2 separate regions of the Homo sapiens genome follow, and region 1 is linked to region 2. Evidence: promoter capture Hi-C in human tissues and cell types (Jung and others, 2019). All regions are on one chromosome and are shown on one strand. The core of a region is centred on a gene start or on the middle of the fragment in contact, and the rest is flanking DNA. Distances in the headings are between cores, read along the strand shown. Region 1 overlaps R3HCC1L (R3H domain and coiled-coil containing 1 like). Region 2 holds the start of LOXL4 (lysyl oxidase like 4).

What was found. Contacts are between HindIII fragments. The study calls those that stand out against the background at their distance.
Region 1: a contact is called between a fragment that was not itself captured here and the fragment with the promoter of LOXL4 in region 2, in 2 of the 25 tissues and cell types used here (liver and mesenchymal stem cells).

Annotation. Positions count from the first base shown.
Region 1 is chr10:98,166,975-98,172,750 of GRCh38, forward strand. All of the region lies in intron 4 of R3HCC1L (R3H domain and coiled-coil containing 1 like), which reads left to right. Among named protein-coding and RNA genes, the nearest start is that of R3HCC1L, 35 kb to the left of the region's middle. RefSeq lists an enhancer at 3,628-3,677. The HindIII fragment of the contact is 3,649 bases long and covers 376-4,024 here.
Region 2 is chr10:98,265,383-98,270,768 of GRCh38, forward strand. LOXL4 (lysyl oxidase like 4) reads right to left here and starts at 2,812. Exons shown (of 15, transcript NM_032211.7): 1 at 2,750-2,812. It overlaps LOC124902489 (a long non-coding RNA gene), which reads left to right and starts at 3,060. Exons shown (of 2, transcript XR_007062260.1): 1 at 3,060-5,386. RefSeq lists enhancers at 1,758-2,259, 2,260-2,759. The HindIII fragment of the contact is 18,964 bases long and covers 1-5,386 here.

The sequences.
Region 1 (5,776 bases), core at 950-3,449, 99 kb before region 2:
AATTTCTACTACCCCAGCAGTGATGTCAATACAATATGTGCACTTAATAAGTATTTGATGGTAAAAAAAAAATGCCATTGCCTATTGTTAGCTTTTACCCATCTTTAACAATTATCTTTCTCTTTGTATCATAAGAATACTAGATAAGAATTCAGTTTAAATACCTGAGCCATGTTCGTTCAGGACATGATTCTTCTTGAAAGCCTTCTGTAGCCCTGTGTACAGGCATTCTGTTCCTTAAAGTAACGTTGCTTTGAAGATTTTACTGTATTGTAATTATTTGTTATTCTTGGAACTCTAATGAATAAACTTTGAAACTGCATAGAAGAGAAACTCTTAAATTTATTAACTTGTTAATGTTTTCTTTGCCTGAAACTTGCTTTTGGTTTCTCAGTTTCTCACCAGGCACATTTCACACCTGCTGGTATAGCTCCAAGGAGGGAGGTGATAGATACGGAGCTGTAGCTATTTCTCTAACAGACAGACTCTACCTCATTTATAAGTATTCATTTTTGTTGTTACTGTGATTTGGTATTTTAAAAATTAAACTGTTCTGTGCTATGCATTTTTACAAACATACATACAAAATAAATAGCTTTGCTACAATGAACCTTTGGCTGTAGCCAGACTAGCATTCTGGGCTATGCATTTTTACCCCAACATAATTTTTAGAAGATATGTGTTTTAGTCTTACAGTAGTAGTTAGATGCAGGGACTTTGAAATCCAATCCACGGACTTTGAAATCCTATCCAGCACTTGGAAACTGTGTAATCTTAAGTAACTTAAGTTTCAGATTTTTCATCTGTAAAGTTGGGATAATAATAGCTACCTCTTAGTATTGTAGTTGGGATAAAATGAGATAACATATATGACACTTAGCTGAGATTGAGTCTGGTGGCTTCTACTTTCAAAATTTACCCAGTGGTTTATTAGCTTTACTCTGTGAATCTTAAAGAGGAAAAGAAATCAAGTTTAATGCATGTCAAGGTTGAGGTAAAGCCCCCAAAGCTTTATCCATTTGAGCTCCTTTATTGTCAACTATAGGATGTCAGTTAAACCCAGAATAGACCCAGGAGAGGAACTAATTTCAAATAACTGTAGAAGCAGACCAACCTCCAGATGTGTATTGAGGGAAAGAAGTTTTAAGAGGGAGTTTTTTTCTTCTCTCCCTGCCCCCTACCGCCAGTTACATATGCAGAGTAGGAAGCAAACTTTTCTCTCTACCTTTGTATTACATATTATATTGCCATTGTTCGGTATATTAAAGCTTTTATCTGACTGCCTTTTGAGGTGGTCAATAATAGGTGCTAACATTAAACTTGGAGCAGTTAAGTCGGTGAGCTGTGTGGTTACCTTGTCAGTGGAGTGTGAAAAAGACTAAGCTGCGGACTGTTTCCCAGCCTATAAAGCGTGAAATCAGTTGGTGCTGATGCATGACGACTATAGCCAGTGTAGTATAAAATAAGCTGGGGGCATGAATTGTGTTATGTCGTGAGAAAGACCTTTTCATGCCAGTTTATTTATATATTTTGGGACCTCCAAGATCCTACTGGAATCATGTATCTTGTATCTTTTGTTGTCTTGATACTCAGTTTTTTCATGAAATGTTTCTTCCAGTTGTGCAAGCTGTATTCTTTGTCCAGCTGCAGGCAGAGAGGCAGAGGCAGTAAATATAAATGTCCAAGGCAGAGGCAGACTAATATTAAAATACTGTATTATATTCTGTTTAAGATTGCATCTGAAAATACCATCTGCAGTTGGTATTTGATGTACAGGTTTCTTCTGTTTTAGACCCAAGATTTGAACGTATACTCTACATTCTACTTTGAGCTTCTGCCAGGGTGAGAACTGTGTTACCAGTTTCACTGGTTGGTGGTCCCATGTTGAAATGTGCCTCTGGAGAAGGAAAGTAGAGAAGGGCAGCATTTTCAAATGCTTGGAGGAGTTGGTAGGAAGAAGTATAGAGATTATTCTTATGCGGAATAGAAGAGAGGGTGTTCCTCTCCTGACACCTGGTGAGGTTCTTTACCATATGGCTTTTGAGGGTGAGGCAAGGTGAATGAGGAAGTTTCAGAGACAACAGTGAATTATTGTCAGCCTTTTTAAGTCTGGAAGGTTATTGGAAATAGGCATGCCATGAAAGCATTAAAGATCTTTCATTCTTATCTTACTTGGTTTTCTCCTTTTACGGCAGCAGTCTTTGAACTCTTTTTGGTTGTTTTGCAGTTACATGGATTCTAAGCAAATTGTGAATATTTATGAAACTAATGCATCATTGTGAGACCATTCTGCTGAATATCAGGCAGTCTAGTCTAGTAGTTAAGTGCAGGGACTTTGAAATCCTAACCAACACTTAGAAGTTGTGTGATCTTTAGTTATTTAAGCTTCAGATTTCTCCTATATAAAATTGGGATAATCATAGCTATCTCTTAGTACTATAGTTGGAACCAAATGAGATAATGTATATACAATGTTTACCACAGTCCCTGTCATGTAGTAAGCACTCTGTAAATGGTAGCTGATTATTCTTCTTTCTCTTCCTCTACTACTACTAAATCACTGCTCTACCACTACTTCACTTTTGCTTGTAGGGCCTAAACTGTAATGAAACAGAAAACACAATTAGACATGGTTCATCGCGGCAGATTTTGAAAAATATGTCATTGTTCTCTTGGGCATGGCTTAATAGTTCTTTCTTAACTAAGTAGAAACTATAAAAAGACTTTTTAAAATGAAAGATAAGAATCTTTGTCTTGGTTTAAGATAGCTTTGCAAATGAGTGTACAAAACTAGTTATTCTAAAATGTATTTGCTTAATGCAAATAAATCAGCCTTTATATGAGCTTAGGGAATATGTAAAACTAACAGCTCGAAGAATTGTCATTCCTTATTACTCACCTAACACAACCTTTTTTTTTTTTTTTTTTTGGAGTGAGTGCTTTTTTTTGGGAATTGTTTGAAGTTTTTTTCTTGTGCCAAGAATAGTCACAGTAGAAGTCTTGTCCAGTGTATGAGGCACATTTTTGGGGGAATGGGATGGAAAAATCACCCTGATCATTTATCCTTAATGGTAATGAGTATTAGTGTGGATAATATATTTGGATTTGATGTGCATTATGTGATTATTTCTTCAGCACAATTAACTTCCTGATTAAACTTTGCTCAGCATATATTGTGAGCATATACTCGGTGGAAAACTGATAATACTGCTATAATGGTGGTAAAACTGCTAGTTTAGTTGATAGACAATCTGGGTTCTGGTCTTAGTTACTACCACTCTAATAGTCTTAGATAAATCCCTCAACCAGATGATTTTCAAAGGCTCTTTTCAGCTATAAGCTTTTTGTTGGTTTGTTTTGAGACTGGGTCTTGCTCTGTCACCCAGGCTGGAGTACAGTGTCACAATCATAGTTCACTGCACCCTCAAATTCATGGGCTCAAGCAGTCTCCCTCCCTCTCAGCCTTCCAAGTAGTGAGGGTTACAGGTATGTGCTACCGTTCCCAGCTAATTTTTTATCTTGTTTTAATTTTTTAGAGACAGAGTCTTGCTAAGTTGCCCAGGCTGGTCTTGAACTCCTGGCCTCAGGCAGTACTCCCACCTCGGCTTCCCAGAGTGCTGGGATTGCCTGCGTGAGCCACTGTGCCTGGCTTCAGCTATAAGATTTGAAGATAGGTATGCAGGTGGCTTAGAAACTGGGAAATGTAGTAGTGACACATTTTGGCCACCAGAGGGTGAAGTCCAGTCATTGAAGTTGTGCTCTGTATTTGACCAGAATGTGGCATTCTTGGAAATGAAGAGGACACATTGACCCTCTGTTCATTTAGGTTAAGTCATAGAGCCTCTTGCTCTCTGATTCTGCTTTCACTTATTATCTTTCTAAAACTTTCTGGGTAGGGCTGGGGCAGATACTAAAGAAAGGAGAAGAAAGGAATAGAGGTATCTAATTGTCAGCTATTCATCCAATTTTGTTCTGTAAGATAGTGAATAGCTTTCAGATGACCTATGGGCAACCTTGATGGGAAGCACAATAGTATATAGGTCACCACACTTAATTATTTGTGGCCACCTTCCTTCCCCAAAACACATAGGCATGCACACAACACTTAACCCTCATTGCCTTCACTCTCTCTGAAATTCCAAGGATGAAAACAGAATGTCTGAGAAATATAGTAGCGTGAGCACAGCCCTTATAATTGTAACCAAGGTTCCAGTCTTGCATTGCCACTTAATATCTGTGTAACCACAGACATTACAATTTTGAATTCTCAGTATCTTTATCTGAAAAACTAGGATGTTGAATTCTGACCTATACAATCCCTTTCGGTAAGTCTAATTCCAAGGCTCTGTAAAAATTCTTTAATGTTTATTTGAAGGGCAGTGCTATTCTTAATACAACACTTTAATAAAGTAGTATCTTTAAACAATAGCATGTTCTTTTTTGATAGAAACAGAGCTCTAGATGTTGTTAAGGCATAGATATTAAAGAAGTAAACTATCATGACATCAAATAGAAAGACAGTTACTGCTCCACCGTGGCATTTTTTTGGCCCCATAAACAAATACAAACTAATTCTCTGTGAATATAGGCTCAGGATAGCAGTGGTTCAATCAAGAGGGGCCAAGACTAGGAGGAGCCAGGCCAAGCTGATTTCGGGTATAGTTAATAGTGAAACATTATGAGAAGAAGTCATTTGGGGATAAGTAAGCTTAGCAAAAGAGAGCATGTAGGTTCTGGGAACCTATGTCATGAAGCTGGAGTCAGAATCCATTTCTTCCAGCCACACCAGTGGAAATAACTTTGACACAACATTCGATTATACAAGTCCAAGTTGCTGTCTGAGAGCTCAGGATGATAAGATGGAAGGAACAAGGAAAGGCACGGTAGACAAGCTGAGATGAGTGTCTAGAATGTGATAGAGCAAATGGACTCAGAAGTGTGCTTGTGAAAGCAGGCAAGGATTAGTACTTACTATTATGTTTAATATGTATGCAAGAGAGTAGAAGCCAGTCAGGCTGACTGGGTAGAAACAACATTTTAGGATTATGTTCAAAAGATAATTTTAATCTGTCCTAGTTTTAATCGCTATCCTTGGTGTTGGTAGAAAAGGTCTATTTGGTATGTCTAAGGCTCTACACATGTTTGAGGCTAGTGATTATATCACTGACAAACTCTAGGTTGTTTGATGATTCTAATAGCTTTACACTCCACGGGATATACACGTATTCACAGATCCGCTCACTACTGCTGCAGAGTTCATTTCACAGAAATGAACTGGCTAGTAAAAAATTTGGCAGGCAAACTAGCTTTTCAAGTAGCTGCTAGGAATGGAGCCCAGCTATTCCCTTTGGGCTTGAGCTGTTGGAATTCATTGGGTTAGCAGCTAGAAAGAATGAAACTGTAACATTTTTAGCGTGGTTCATGACAGCAAAGCTGAGGTGTTAGGATTTCTGTTCTAGAGGTTTACACTGCAAGTAACTTAACTTGATTGTGTGTCTTAATATTACTGGGCTTCTGACCGCTGAAATATGGCTTGGATCGATGGTGGTTTGGAGAAAGTAGAAAGAGGGCTATCCATCATCTGGAGGCTCCATAGAAGCTGGCTGATAATGCTGCTTTCACCAGGCAGCCATCTGTCCATCCATCCATCAGTAGGATGAAATGAGATTTAGCGGAACAGGCAGCCGTAACTCTGAAATACTTTCTAACCAACAATTGCAGCCCTGGCCTGAGTCTGACCACAAAGCACAGCACTGGGGTTTGGCGGGATGTGGCA
Region 2 (5,386 bases), core at 1,562-4,061:
TTATTATTATTATTATTATTATTATTATTATTATTTTTGAGACAGATTTTTGCTCTTGTCACCCAGGCTGGAGTGCAATGGCACAAACTCGACTCACTGCAACCTCCGCCTCCAGGGTTCAAGTGATTATCTTGCCTTAGCCTCCCAAGTAGCTGGGATTACAGGCATGCGCCAACATGCCCAGCTAATTTATCTGTATTTTTAGTAGAGACAGGGTTTCACCACATCAGTTCTTGAACTCCTGACCTCAGGTGATCCACCCGCCTTGGCCTCCCAAAGTGACGGGATTACCAGCGTGAGCCACTACATCGGCCAACAATGAACTATTATTAACAGCTACTGTGACAGCGACGATAGAACCGTTGGTCTAGATTGGTCCCACCTCCTCTCTGTACAAAGAAGGAAATGGAGGCCACGTCCGATCTCAACTGCAAGTCCTTGGTACTCCTCTTTGCAGCCTTCTCTAGATTTGCCCCTTTTCCCTCCACCCACACTGCAGAGCCTAGATGCTCCCCTCTCCACTCCCTGAGGCTGTGCAGGGGCTGCCTTCCCATTCTCACCTCTGCAGCTCTCCCCCTCTGACCCCTCCCACGCTTCCTTTCCAGACTGAAACACTGTCTTCTGCATGTCACTCAGAGGCTTGTGGGGGCTCCCAGCTGGCTGTCCCATGAGCAGAGTGCTCTCCATTGTTTCCCATTCCCTCCTCCGTGCTCCCTGGAGTAGGAGGTAGACAGCCAGGGACTGAGCCAAACCACTCCCCAGATGGCAAGAAAGGATGGGACAGATCGGCCTCAGGTCCCTCAGCTATTAGGACCCAGTGGTCACATGGGTCTGGGCTGAGTGACAACCACACCTTCTCTACCACCCCCAGGAGTTGGAATGCTTCTATCTCTGCCGCCAAATTGTGTCTGGAGTCAAATATTTTCCTTTCTCTGAGTCTCAGCTGAAAAACCTGTAAAATGAGGGGGTGGCACTAGACAGCCCCCCTATCCGACATGCTCTGATGGGGCCCAGGGTAGGCTGGGCAGGTCTGCTGTTTGGCTCCTGGCTGAAGTCCCTGACACACTGAGGAGGTCTTGTTACAGGCTGTGGACAGTCCCAGGCCAGCAGCTCCTTCCTCTCCAAGGGACCAACCTGAGGGCATGGGAGGGCTTCTGCTGTAGGACCCTGGGGTCTGGGCCAGGGAAGCTCCCTTCCATGAACGCTGCTGGAAGGTGGGGGGACGGCAGCGGGAACCAAGAGTTAGATGCAGGGAGAGTCCCTCTTATTGGCCTTCCTGCCCACTATAGGCCCCCGAGAGCTTTTGCTCACACCAGACTATAGCCTTCGTCTCCCAGCCTCCAAGCCTTTGCTCTCACTGTTCCTTTCCCTCTATCTAAGACTGTTAAACTCCTACACATCCCACAAGGCCAGCTCAAATGCCACCCCCTCCATTAAGCCCTCCCACAAAGCCTTCCACAAAGCACATTGTGTGTTTGCTTCCTGACCCCACAACCAGACTCCACCTGTCTGTTCCCCTAGCACTGAGCACAGAGGACCAAGCTGTGCATCCTCCCTCAGAGAAGGAAGCGGCCTCGAAAGTGGCCGTTACTTTCCCAAATAAAGGAGAAGGGGACAGAAGAGGGAAGGAAGGTGGAAGGGAAAGAGGAGGGGAGGGAAGTGAGGATAATAACTATACATTTTAAAATACGGATTAAATACTTATCTCCATTTTACAGATGAGAAGGTAAGGTCCAGGGAAGTCAAGTAACTTGCCCAGCCAGGATTCAAACCCAAGCAGCCTGGCTAGACGCCGGACTCTCAAAACCACCAAGAATGGATGTTGGAAGAGGGGGAGGAGGAAAGGAAGGCCGGGAGCCGACTGAAATTCCACCCTGTTCTGGTGGATTTATGACCCAGGCCGTGGTGTGAGGGCACTGGGCAGGGTGCTCTTCGCTGAATGCCGAGTGACAGATCCAAGATCTTGCCAGCTTGAGGCACAGAGGCACCTGCTCCAGGTGTGCCAGGAGATGCTGGGACCTGGCCTGACCTAGCGCAGGTAGGGAGGGCTGAAGACAGCAAATGCCCGAGTATTCAAGAGAGAGCATGGGGGGTGCTGTCCTGAGGGTGCAGCAACTTTAGGATGGCTCATCCCTTCTCTGCCGTTGGGCAGCTCTTCTCAGCAGCCTCCTCTCAGCCCTGTAGCCTCCCCGGGGTTACTGACTCTGTGGACCTGAAGCAGTGCCAACAAATGGTCTCTGAGCTGTACCTGTCCAGGCTAGGAAAGAGGGGGCTTGAAGTCTTCTGCCCCCTTCCCTTCGGTGTTTCTGTCACACGCCGACCCCCCAACATAATCAGCTCCGGTCTGGATAGTTGGAGAGCCCAGATCAGCCCTGGTTCGTTGTCCCCCAAGTCGTAAGTGTGACATCTGAACCCGCCTTGCCCCTTCCCTGTCTCCTCCCTGGAAGAAGGCAGAGCAATGGTTACACACGGCGTGTACACAAACAAGACACGCAGGCACCCCTGAGGCCTGGGCGCACCACTCAGGGCGGGCCTTGGGCCAAGCTCCCCAGCGTGGTCACTTGTCCAGTTGGAAGCAGGTTGGTGAGCGACTGGAGGGCCGGGCTGAGGGTCCAAGGGATCCCCCATGCACCCTAGGCCCAGTCTCCAGGAACCCTCAGAGGCCTGCAGACTCACAGAGAGACAGAAGGACAGATGGGACAGCAAGAGGCAGACCAAGAGGCAGACGCGCGGCCAGGCGGGGGCTCACCAGATGGAGCGCGGACAGTCCGGGGCTGGGCGGGCGCCGCGGCGGAGCAGCGCTAACGGGCTCCCTCCCCGGGCGCCCTGGGGCCTTTTTATCCGCCTCCCGCCCGCGGCCCCCCAGCCCCGAGCTGGCCGCGGAGGAGGCCCCGCAGGCCCCGCCCCGGGCGGGCCTGGAGTCCGCGGGCGCCCCGCCCGGCCTTCCGCGCGGCGCCCCCCGTCGGGACACAGGCCAGGTGGCGGGGGCGCCCAGCCGCAGCCGGCGGGGCCGGGAAGTCCCGGGGGGCGGGGGGAGCGGGGGGGCGGCGGGGGGTCGCGGGGAGCGGAGCTCTCGGGAAAGGGCGGCGCTGGGCCCGCGGCTGTTTTGCAGGGAGGGCCGCGGCGGCCTCGGGAGTCCCTCTCCCAGGCAGTTTCCTCTTTTGCAGAACAAGGTAATGACGCCCACCTAGAGTCCCAGTCTGTGAGTCCTGGTGGGTGCCAGGGCCCCCGGCACAGCACCCTTCGCACGGGAGCGCCCGGCTGTCACAGGGGCCGAATCTCACGAGCTCGGTCACTTAGGACAATGTAGACGCCCTTTCTGGGAGGCCGGGGCTCAGTTCAGAGAGGTCGAGGTGGCGCGGTGCAGCGGTGCTCTCCTGCAGGAACAGGCGAGTCACCCAGAGTTTACTGAATACCGCCCCCCCCCCCCCCCCCGCCCTCCGTGTGAAACTCTGCGCTGCCCATTGTGCAGCTGGGAACACTGAGCCCCAGGCGACATAACTTGCTCCTCCAGGCAATACACAGTGAATGGGAGAACCCCTTCACAGAGCTGAATGATGCAGTCCTGGCCCTTGTCAGACTCACGGGAGGAGGGTGTTAGTGCAGGGAGCAGGGACTGTAGAATTAAAGAAATGTGGACATGGCTGACAGAGAGGAGTCCCATCAGCTGAACTGAGCACCTAGGTGCCTGAACCCCAGTCCAAGCCCCCAGTTTCTTTCCCCTAGACCTGGTCCTGCCCTTAGCCTCACTGGCCCCATCTGTAAAATGGGCAGAGGGTTCCAGCCTCCCGGTTTCCTCCCTAGGCCCACAGCTGCCCAACCTGGTTCCCCCTCTTGCCCCCACCTTGCCTAAACGTCCTTCCAAAGGTTCATTCATCCCACAAGCCTTTATTGATTTTCTCCTACATGCTAGACAGGGTGCTGGAGTGCTAGACGCTGGAGGGGGCCTTCCCAGTCTGGTGGGGGAGGCAGATGTGCAAGTAAGAATAAGCCTGGACAGGCAGAGTGTGATAGAGCTAGGATGTCAAGATGGACCTTTTCGATCCTGGGTGACAGCCAGGTCTTAATGACCCTGCTGCCAGGGACCTGCCATCCACTCCTGGCTGCCCGTGTCCAAGATGTCCCCCCAGTGCCCCTGCCCCACCCCAGCTGGGCCCAAAACATTCCCCATGATGAATCAGCAGGAAAGAATGCTCCCAGCCTCGGGTCAGTGGCAGCAGCCCAGCTCCTCCCCCAGGGACAATGAGGCAGCTGTGGGCTTGGGTGCCAGGTATGCCTAAGCCCTCTCCTAGGGCCCAGCCACCTCTCATGCTGAGCCAGAAGCAACACAGAGGGTTCGGAAACGTGGGCTCTGCCTGCTGCCAATCACTCACCAGGCCTGGCTGCCCAGAACTAAAAATACCCTGGAGCGCAGGGGCGGGCGGAGGATAGAGACCAGGGAATGAATGGATGTTGCCCGGAAGTCCTTTAATTTGCACAACTCTGGGCAGAGGCCAAGGCTGGGAAGCAGTGGAAGTGGGGATCTCTAAGGCATGCGCTGTGAGCCCCCAACCCTGAGAAGTGAGGGGCTCTGGTCCCAGCCCCAGCCCATGGCGTACTAACAGTGGGATTTTCTCGGCTGAGTTGTCATCTCCTCATCCTTAAATGTGATTGCTGTAGGGGTCAGATGGGACCACTGGATTCATCTCAATCAGCTTTCATTTGATTGAGAAAGCCCTCTTCTTCCCTCCTGCCTGGCTATGTTCACCCGGCCTCAGCCCAGCGCCTGTGACCCTCTCCATACTCTTTATATAATGGTCTGTGTCTGCCTTAACTCTGGACACCCCCACCCACCCCCGAGCTTCTTATTTATCTCTAAACCCAGATCCTGTCACAGAGCTTGACACATAGCAAGTGCTCCAGAAGTGCTCACGGATTGAATAAATGGACCTAGCGGTGCGTGCCAGTTTCTGGTCCCCAAGGTGATACAGACAAGCCAGAGGTGCTTCCTATCTTGTCCTCAAGGAATTTGCAGAGTGGTGGGGGAGACAGAGCCACAATCAACCAGCAGGACAAGGCATCATCACCATTATCATCATCATGGCTGGCTGGGGTCGAAAAACCGGTGGACAATGCTTTCATCATCTCCTGTTTACACAATGAAACTGGGACACAAAGGGGTTAAGTGACTTGGCCAACATCACACAGCTGTTATCTGCAGATGGGAGCAAGTGATCAATGACGGCGAAAGCACAGGGCTGTGTGGATGCTGGGCAGGGAAGTCTGAGGGTTGAAGCCTTCCCAGAAGTGCCTTGGAAGGTGGATCTGATACACTGGGTAGAGAGGGGGGAAAGTGGAGTGGTCAGGAATAACACTTTACGATGTTGTGGAAGCCGTGAAGCACCAT